Regions from separate parts of the Homo sapiens genome. Here all the other regions are linked to region 1. Evidence: promoter capture Hi-C in human tissues and cell types (Jung and others, 2019). All regions are on one chromosome and are shown on one strand. Each heading gives the region's core, a stretch centred on a gene start or on the middle of the fragment in contact. The rest is flanking DNA. Distances are from core to core; before and after follow the strand shown.

The links. The method cuts DNA at HindIII sites, captures the fragments that hold promoters and counts their contacts. A contact is called where the count stands out against the background at its distance.
Region 2: a contact is called between a fragment that was not itself captured here and the fragment with the promoter of OIT3 in region 1, in 1 of the 25 tissues and cell types used here (aorta).
Region 3: a contact is called between a fragment that was not itself captured here and the fragment with the promoter of OIT3 in region 1, in 1 of the 25 tissues and cell types used here (psoas muscle).

Annotation. Positions count from the first base shown.
Region 1 is chr10:72,892,375-72,896,021 of GRCh38, reverse strand. OIT3 (oncoprotein induced transcript 3) reads right to left here and starts at 2,283. Exons shown (of 9, transcript NM_152635.3): 1 at 2,163-2,283. The coding sequence starts at 2,223. The HindIII fragment of the contact is 12,875 bases long and covers 1-3,647 here.
Region 2 is chr10:72,936,725-72,940,218 of GRCh38, reverse strand. The region is part of intron 3 of PLA2G12B (phospholipase A2 group XIIB); the gene reads left to right. Among named protein-coding and RNA genes, the nearest start is that of PLA2G12B, 16 kb to the left of the region's middle. The HindIII fragment of the contact is 4,211 bases long and covers 1-3,494 here.
Region 3 is chr10:72,829,099-72,832,417 of GRCh38, reverse strand. The region is part of intron 1 of MCU (mitochondrial calcium uniporter); the gene reads right to left. Among named protein-coding and RNA genes, the nearest start is that of OIT3, 63 kb to the left of the region's middle. The HindIII fragment of the contact is 6,518 bases long and covers 1-3,319 here.

The sequences.
Region 1 (3,647 bases), core at 1,034-3,533:
ACCATCCAATACTTTCTGACATTTAACGTACCCATCCCACTCTACCCCCTTTTAAGGCAGCAATCCAATCTAATAATCTGGCCACTGGTCTTATATCCTGTTTTTAATCTCAGCGTGAAGCCCAGAATCTGGTATTGCGCACATTCATCCTAAAATGCTGATCTATACATCTCAGTGCGAAGGCTTCAAAAAGAACAGCTTCCTGGCCTGCCAGAAGCTCCTCAATGGTTTGCTAAGATGCCCACTTGCCAGCTGCCCCTCTGCTGTCTTCCACCAGGACCACGCAGGGCCAAGGGCAGGGAACCATGTCTGCGTCCCCACCCTTTCGCCCCAGGGTTGAGTCCTCCAACCCTCCAGGTCCTATCCGGCAGACAGCCGCCCCTGAATCACAGCCCCTTTTCGACCCTGTGCCTGAGCTTGGTCGGGAAGTGCCCCTCCTTTCCTGCTCCATCCTCTTCCATCCTCCTCCCTCATCACCCCACTTTGCTTCCCCCTTTCTCATCCCTTCTTTTCCTCTTCTCTCACTTCCCCTGTCCTCTCAGGGCAAACACCAGCTCTAGTTCCCAAAGTTCCCCCTTTATCATGCTTCTGGCATTGAGCCAAATATCATCCTTGAGGAGCTGGGGGTTGGAGGAAAAGATCTGGGAAGGGCGATGGTATATGGAAAGAATGGGGAATATAGGAGGTACTAGAGGGAGAATAGGTAAGGAGAAGGGTGGGAAGAAAGGGGAGTGGAGATTTTCGGGAGGACAACTTTCTGAGCGACCCTTGGGTTAGTTATTGGCAGCAGATAGGGGGTGATTAATGACAGGTAGCTCAAGCATATTTTTTGGAATAGTTTTGGATTTACAGCATAATTGAGATGATAGGACAAAGAGATCCCACATACCCCACACCCAGTTTCCCTTGTTATGACACGTTACCTTTAGCCATACATTTACCACACATTGGCATGGTACCTTTGTCACATTAATGACCCACTATTGATACCTGATTATTAACTCAAGTCCACACTTATTCAGATTCCCTTAGTTTCCACCCATATCTTTCTGTTCCAGGATCCCACATTACCTTTAGGTGTCAGGTCTCCTTAGGGTCTCAAATCACCATTTTTATTTTTATTTTTATTTTTTTGAGATGGAGTCTCCCTCTGTTGCCCAGGCTGGAGTGCAGTGGTTCGATCTCGGCTCACTGCAACCTCCACATCCCGAGTTCAAGTGATTCTCCCGCCTCAGCCTCCCAAGTAGCTGGAATTACAGGCATGCAACACCATGACCATCTAATTTTTTTGTGTGTATGTATTTTTAGTAGAGACGGAGTTTCACCATGTTGGCCAGGCTGGTCTTGAACTCCTGACCTCAGGTGATCCACCCGCCTTGGCCTCTCAAATGCTGGCATTACAAGTGTGAGCCACCGTGCCTGGCCACAAGCCTATTTTTAATGTGTATCCTTTCAGGTACTAGAGCAACCATGAAGAAATAAGCCAGGGTCAATTAGATACTGAGCTACTCAAAAGTGTCAAGAAGGATGGTTCTCTCCATCTCACCCCCACCCTCTGTTCCAGTTAGTACTCACATTCTACTAGAAAAAGATGCAAGAGAGAAATCTGTTAGTAACTGGAATTGAAACTTTTCTTTGCCTGACTGGCCAGTTTTGCACCAAGCCTGAGGAGGGAGACAATTTAAGATTCACTCGATCTGTGCAAAAAGTCTTATTTTCTGACATAAAGACTAATGAGTTTGGTTTATCCAGATCTGTGCCCCCCATGGCAACAGAGCTTTCAGTCCCTTGCCTTCATTAAAGAAAAATTCTATGCTCAACTTTAATTTTTTTTTTTTTGGCTCTTCAAGTTGGAACTATAAAGTGCCTAGAACACAAAGAAGATAGAATTATTTTTACACATACTCCAGGAACTCTTTAGCTAGTGAAAGCTGTGGGATATGGCAGATCCATGGAAATTTTGGAGTCCAGGCAAGAGGCTAAATGGAACATGTAACAGAAATTCTCGGGAAATCTATTTTCAAGGATTATTAGGGACTTTTCTTACAAGATTCTAGAGCTAGCATTTAAGGTACTGGAATCTAGTTCTTAATCATCTGTACATTATAGCAAATTGCCACAACAAAAAGTGCATTGTGCCAAGTTCTTGACATGAGACTCACCCACGGGTGACACGGAGGTGCCTGTGATGAAGAGGCAGGTGAGAAGCAGGAATGGAGGCATCCTTCTGGACCAACTGCCAGAAACACTGGAAAATCCTCTTAATACTGGTGTTCCTTTGTCCCCTTCTCTTTCAAGCACTTTTTTTTTTAAGGCCTCTAGGCTCTCACGAGAAAGACTTTATCAGCACTGGTAGGGGCTTTATCAGAGGAAGAGGATGAGGATGAGTGGGATAAGGTGTCCACAGCTCTGGCCTTGGCCCCAGAGAGAAGCACTGCTTTACACTGTCAACAGGGTTCCTTTATTAATAGTTTTCTTTAGGAAAAAAAAAAAAAAACACAACTCACAATCCCTCATCCTCCTATTGTTTTCTCTCAAGAATTCCCTGCAATGAAACCCCAGTATCTTATCCAGAAGGGAATTCTAAATGAGGGACATCCCTTCACGTCAAATTCTTGCTTTGTGACTTCTAGGAATTGATTTCACAATGTTGCAGCCATAGCACTGCACACTAAACGAGAATGGATGAAGCCAAATCACTGCAACTGTCTTGGTCAGATGGTTGAGGAGCTTATAATAGCACACAAAACAAAGTAGTAAGGACAGGTATGAGACAAGGACAGTATTCTCTTGAAATAAGCTCCTGAGTTTGTTTTATTACGGTCTTTGGCCTCAAAACTTCTGAAAGAAACAAGGTTTAAATTGTGTTTTTACTAATTCAAGCAGCAATACCTCATATTTTTATTGTCTTTACTCCCAAAATTAAAAAATGGTTTAATGTTATTTATTTCACTAATTCTCACATTAAGATGGGGTAGGAGCTTAAAATTAGAAACTACTCATTAAATTAACACTCTGGAAAATTAAATGTCAAAATTTCCTGAAGTTTCACTTTTAGACAAAGGAGAGAAAATGTGCTTCTTAGCACAATTTTTTTTTTCAGACGGAGTCTTACTCTGTCGCTCAGGCTGGAGTGCAGTGGTGTGATCTCGGCTCATTGCAAGCTTCGCCTCCCGGGTTCACGCCATTCTCCTGCCTCAGCCTCCCAAGTAACTGGGACTATAGGCGCCCACCACCACGCCCAGCTAATTTTTTTGTATTTTTAGTAGAGACAGGGTTTCACTGTGTTAGCCAGGATGGTCTCGATCTCCTGACCTCGTGATCCGCCTGCCTTGGCCTCCCAAAGTGCTGGGATTACAGGTGTGAGCCACCGAGCTCGGGCAATCACTGGTTTTTGACAATGACAAAAGTACACATGGTCTCCAGAAGCACAGGGTTTATGGTCAAGCAAGGGGTTTCCATTGATCTAAAATTGTAGTTAGCTACTTCATTACTAACATCAGTGGGACACAGGCAATTTGACCATTAACTTATTAAGTTGTGGTTTGATGGCAGCAATGGATGACTCTGCTGTCTCATTGCAGGATAGTGTTGCTAAGTATCAGTGCTTTAAACAGAAAAAACAATCCCCCACAACTTCCTGCGCC
Region 2 (3,494 bases), core at 508-3,007, 45 kb before region 1:
GTCTGCAGTAGAGAGAATTTTGGATCTTTTCATAGATCAATGTCTAGAGTGCAGTCTGGAGGTGAAGGTGTGAGGGCTTAGAAATGTGAATAATTCAGTGTGCCCTATGAAAGGGAGTATCATTCTATTCTGTTTCTGCAGAGGCTGAAAAAGTACCTGCTGCTAATCTAGGGTCAGGTCAAGTTACTTCCTGCAAGCAATGTCCTGTTGATTCATTCTCCCAAATATCTCTTTCATATCCCACTTGCCTGGTTACTGCAAATTAACCCAGTCTCTGTGTCCCATCTAATTGATAGTCACCATTGGGACCAGATATGCCACATGAATGTGATCATCTCAACCCCCTGTGTAAATCATTCAATAGATTCCTCCTCCTTACGGATGAAATCCAAACTCCTCAGTATGCCATACATGGCCCTTTCTGATTCAGCCCTAGCCTTCCTCTCCACCATTATCTTGGGCATTTCTGGTCTGTCTCTTGACTCCTGCTTCAGTGGGCTCAGAACTGTCCCTTCGTAGATTCTACAAAAAGAGTGTTTCCAACCTGGTGAATCAAAACACAGGTTCCTTTCTGTGAGATGAATCCACACATCACAAAGCATTTTCAGATAGCTTGTTTCTAGTTTTTATCACGGGATATTAGATGTTTTTCTTATAGGCCTCAATGGGCTCAGAAACGTCCCTTTGTAGATTCTACAAAAAGAGTGTTTCCAACCCGGTGAATCAAAACACAGGTTCCATTCTGTGAGGTGAATCCTCAAAAAGCATTTTCAAAGATCGCTTATTTCTCATTTTTATCACAGAATATTTGATTTTTCCTTATGGGCCTCAGTAGGCTCAGAAATGTCCCTTCGTAGATTCTACACAAAGTGTTTCCAACCTGGTGAATCAAACTCCTTGGGTTGATGGCCCATTCCTTTCTGCCCCTGTGTGAAACGCCCTAATCATTCATTTTTGTTGTTGTTGAAACAGATTTATTAAGCTACAATTCACACATGATACAATTCACCCACTTAAATGCTTTTAAATATGTTCACAGAGTTATGCAGTCAATCCCACAGTCAATTTTAGAACATATTCATCACCCTGAAAAGGAGCCCCAGGGCCATTAACGGTCTCTCCCCAAACTCCCCCTGCCCAGCTTGAGGAAACCATGAATCTACTTTCTACCTCTAGAACTGCCTATTCTGGACATTGTCAAAAATCAATTGACCATAAAGGTTAGGATTTATTTCTAGATGCGCAATTCTATTCCACTGATCTATGTCAGGACCATGCTGCCTGTTACTGTCGTTATGCAGTAAATTTTGAAATCAAGATGTGTTCTTAAACTGTGTACTTTTCTGTCAAGACTATTTTGGATATTCTGGATCCCTCACATTTCCATATGAATTTTAGGAACTGCTTGTCAATTTCTCCAAGGAATGGCAGCTAGAATTTTGAGAGGGTTATGGTTGAATCTATAGATCAATTTGAGAATATTGCCATCTTAACAAGATTATATTTATATCAATGTCCTTTCCATTTATTTAGGTCTTCTTTAATTTATTTCAACAATGTGTTTATAGTTTTCACAGTACAAATCTTGGACTTCTGTTAAATTTATTCCTAAGTATTTTATTCTTTTTAATGTTATTGAAATGTAATTGTATTTAAATTTTATTTTCAGATTATTTATTAATAATGTATAGAAATTCATTTGATTTTTGTACATTGATCTTATATCCTGCAACCCAGCTGAAATAACTCCTTAGTTCTAATATTTTTTTTCATGGATTCCATAGGCTTTTTTGTATATAAGATAATGCCATCTGCATATCATCTTCCTTTCCAATTTGGATTTTTTAAATTTTTTCTCTTGCCTAATTGCCCTGGCTAGAGCTTCCAACACAACATTGAATAGAAGTATTGCGAGTGGACATTTTTGTCTTGTTCCTGATCTTAGAGTAAAAGCATTTCATCTTTCACCATTGAGAATGATTGTTAGCTATGACTGTCATTAGACGACCTTTATTAGGTTGTGGGAGTTCTCCTCTTTTCCCAGTTGGTTGAATGTTTTCTTTTAATTTTTCTTTCTTTCTTTCTTTCTTTTTTTTTTTTTTTCTGAGATGGAGTTTCACTCTTACACCCAGGCTGGAGTGAAGTGGTGTGATCTTGGCTCACTGCAACCTCCACACCCCGGGTTCAAGCGATTCTCCTGCCTTGGCCTCCTGAGTAGCTGGGATTACAGGTGCCCACCACCATGCCCAGCTAATTTTTGTATTTTTAGTAGAGACGGGGTTTCGCCATGTTGTCAGGCTGGTCTGGAACTCCTGCCTCAGCCTCCCAAAGTGCTAGGATTACAGGCGTGAGCCACCACACCTGGCCAAGTGTTTTTATCGTGAAAAAGTGTTGGATGTTTTCAAATGCTTTTTCTGCATCTATTGAGATGATCATGTGGTATTTGTTCTATATCCTATTGATGTAGTGTATCATATTAATTGATTTTAGTATGATTTAGCATTCTTAGGCTAAATCCCACTTAGTCATGATGTAAACCTTTTTATATGTTACTGGATTCAGTTTACTACTATTTTGTTGAGGATTTTGCATCCATATTCATAAGAGATACTAGTCTATAGATTGTTATTTTTGTGATGTCTTTGGTTTTGGTATGAGAGTAATATTGACCTCATAAAATGAATTGGGCAGTGATCCCTTCTCTCCTAATTTTTTAAAAAGCTTAGAAAGGATTGATATTAATTCTTTAAATGTTTGGTAAAATTCCCCAGTGAAGCCAAGTAGAATTGGATTTCTTTGGGGAAGTTTTTAATTACTAAATCACGAGCTTGGGTTAGTAATTGTATTTATATACACTAGTAATCTATTCATATTTTCTATTCTTCTTGAGTCAGTTTCAGCAGTTCACGTCTTTCTACGAATTTGTCCATTCCATCCAAGTTATCAACATTTTTTGGCATGTAGGTATTCATAGTATTCCCTTATAATCCTTTTTATTTTTATTTTTTTGAGATGGAGTCTCGCTCTGTCGCCCAGGCTGGAGTGCAGTGGTGTGATCTCGGCTCACTGCAAGCTCTGCCTCCGGGTTCACGCCATTCTCCTGCCTCAGCCTCCTGAGTAGCTGGGACTACAGGCGCCCGCCACCACGCCTGGCTAATTTTTTGTATTTTTAGTAGAGACAAGGTTTCACCGTGTTAGCCAGGATGGTCTTGTTAGCCAGGAGGTCTCCTGACCTCGTGATCTGCCTGCTTCGGCCTCCCAAAGTGCTGGGATTACAGGCGTAAGCCACCGTGCCCGGCCCTAATCCTTTTTATTTCTATAAGATTGTTAGTGACATTTCTCTCTCATTCCTTAATTTGGTAATTTGAGTCCTCTCTTTTTTTCTTGGTTAGTCTAGCTAAAAGTTTGTTAACATTTTTTATCTTTTCAATGAACCAATTTAAAAAAATTGATATATCATTCACATACCGTAAAATTTACCCTTTAAAAGTATA
Region 3 (3,319 bases), core at 782-3,281, 63 kb after region 1:
GTGTTCTTTAATTTTGTTATCCTTTCTGAGTTTCTTTGCTTTCATTTTCTTAGTAATCTGATCTGGGAATGTTTTAATAGGAGAATTAGCCTACATACTTTAATTAATATAACATACATACGTAATCTCTTATCAGTTATGAAATTTTATGCTATGCTTTCTAAAGTAAAAATACTTTACTAGTGACTAGGCATGGTAGTTCACGCCGGTAATCACAGCACTTTGGGAGGCTGAGTGAGAGGACTGCTTGAGCCCAGGAGTTAGAAGAGGCTGCAGTGATCTATGATCGTGCCGTTGCACTCCAGCCTGGGCAACAGAGTGAGACCTCATCTCTTAAAAAACATTAAAATAAAATTACTCAAAGATTTGTGCTTGCTTTGTTTTAGTTATATATATATTCCTTAAGAAAGGCTTACTTTTTTGTTCTAGTAGTTACTTCAGAGTAAAAGTCAAAGTTCTTTTAACGGCCTTTGAAAGTCTAATATTCTCTGATATCCCATTATCTCTGACTTCATCGCTTACCACTCTCCCTCCTACATTACTGTGCTTTACCCCTTTAGACTCTTCCCTGTTTCTTGAACTCAGCTACATTTTTGCTTCAGGGCCTTTGCAATAGCGATTACCTTTGCTTAGAATACTGTTTCTCTAGATAACTACATGGCTCCCTCAGTTCCTTCAAATATTTGCTCTACTCATCCACTTCAAAAAAAGCAATCTCATCAATGGGTACTCCGAATCCTTTTATGCTGTATTTTCCCCCCATACATTTAACACCTCTTAACAAATTATTTACTTATTTTTGTCTCCTCCAACCCACGAAGCAAAAATTTTCATCTGTTTTGGTCACTGACAGTGCTTGACAAATAACAAGTCCTCATCAAATACATGTTAGGCAAAAAACAAAACAAAACAAAACAAAAACCAACCCTATATTTTATAGTTTATGTTATAACTATAATTTTATATAAAATATACTGTAACATATAAAAATCCTATCTCTATCGTCAGCAATGATTAATACAGCTATGTTTCTTTTTTCTTTCCCTCTACCATTCGGTTTCGTTTATTAGATTATTTCTCTTAGCATTTACCTTTCGCTCTAACCTACGTATCTATGTATCAACTACAGACTCCCCTCCACCCCAATCTTAAGATTTTACTAGATTTACTGATTTCAAATGACATCTTTTGACAGGTTGTTATAAAACATGACAACATCATTTATTTCCTCATCTTTCCGACTTTCATTACTGCACTGTCAAGGTTTTAACGATTCATATTCTTCTCTGTAAATCTAATTTCCACATTTGTTTTAGTCTTAATGCTATAGATCAATGGACTCTATGTTCACTGCCAATACTTTAGCTGTAGTTTCTCCTTTCATTTCTTGGTTGGCTGCACATCTTCCTGTAGAAGTAGGACTCATGAGAGCTAAATTTCCTGCAGCTTGGCATGTTAATTTCTAAATTAATCTTTCCTTGAGGATTTGGAAGGGAAAGAATCAGTGTTGAATACTGCTTTGGAGAAGTCTGAGGTCGGCAGCTTCCTTTGGAGAACTGTGTTTGGCTGGCTTTGTTGGGGATCTGCGACCACAGGTGTCATTCCTCAGGGTTTCCCCACACACCTCTACTTGACCTTCACTGGATCTGGCAACCTTCCTTTATATAATTAGTGTTTTGGAATTGCAGAGATCTCCCTAGTTGTGCTGAAGATGGGGTCTGTATTTTTATCTTATTCTCCTTCCTATTCTAAGATGTGAGAAGAGAAGGGAGAAACTGCTGCCTTTACTGGGCCATTATTTGTTTATGTAGTAACTTTTAAATACTGACATCTTCAGACACATACAGTAGGAAGCACAGTGTGAAGAAATCTCATGAACCTATCATCTGCTTCTATATTTATCAACATTTTATCAAATTCAGTTCATCTACAGCCACCCAGTTTTTCCCCTTCCGTATCTCTTAAAAGGAAATCCCAACCATCATATCACTTCAATATACATACACTGGGCCGTTTTACAACAGAAATCCTCTGTCCTCTATGAGTTCATAAATTATCCTTGACAATAATAAAAGATGTTTTTGTGGGGCAGTGAACCACATTAATACATGGCTGGTTATGAGTAATATTTGTTAGATGATATAGAACATGGGTTGGCAAGCTGGCTGCCTGTTTTTGTAAATAAATTTTATTAGAACATAACAAAGCTCATTCATTTACTTACTCTCTATACCCCACTCAACTACTTTCACATCACAACAGCAAAACTGAGTGGTTGGTATATAGCTGCAAGAGTTGAGTAGCTGCAACAGAGACCACACGGCCCACAAAGTATCAAATATTTACCATCTGGCCCTTTAAGAAAATGTTTGTTGATCCTTGCTTATAGAACAGTTTCTGTAGTTTTGGGACAACTCACTTTCTCAAAGTCCTTCCCGCCTACTTCTATAATGACACTGGCAATTATAAAATACTACATATTAAGTATTTACAAACACACATGTAAGTCCTTTTATTTCTTTAAACTTTCCAGAAGCTTAGAATCTACTAAAGACAACAAAAACAAAAATTATTTTGCTCTTGCCTTTTTTCCTTGAAATATGGCAACAACAAACAAAAAACAAAAACCAAGGAAGCAATTGTAAGAGCTCAAGATCAAAGAACCATTGCTATTCTAAACTCTTCCATAATTCCCCTAAATTGAAAATATTTCATGGTTTAAATTTTGTATTTTTAACATGTCACAAGAAAATAGTAAGTTTGTAAAAGTTTTTTTCCTTTACTGTTTAGGTTTTTTTTTTTTTACCCTTTACTTTCCTTGGAAGCTTTTAATAAATATTTGACTGAGGCTGAAAGTTTGAAAAATATATCAAGAAGTTAAAAAAGAAAGAAAAGTCAGCAAAAACATTCAGGCAAATGATATGTGATATTTATATATTTAAATTTCATAGGCAGATACCAAGATTAAAGTTAAGTAAAGTTAATTAAGTTAAATCTTGGCAGATACAAAGATTAAAGTTAATTATTTAGAAAGTATTTCAAAAATTATCAGAGAAAGGGAAAATCTCTAGGAACTTTTTTTTTTTTTTTTTTTTGAGACAGTGTCTCTCTCTGTTGCCCAGGCTGGAGTGCAGTAGCACAATCTTGGCTCACTGCAATCTCTGCCTCCTGGGTTCAAGCAATTCTCCTGCCTCAGCCTCCCGAGTAGCTGGGACTACAGGCGAGCACCAACCATACCCGGCTAATTTTTATATTTTTTAGTAGAGACAGGGTTTCACCATGTTGGCCTGGCTGGTCTCGAACTCCTGAACTCAAGTGA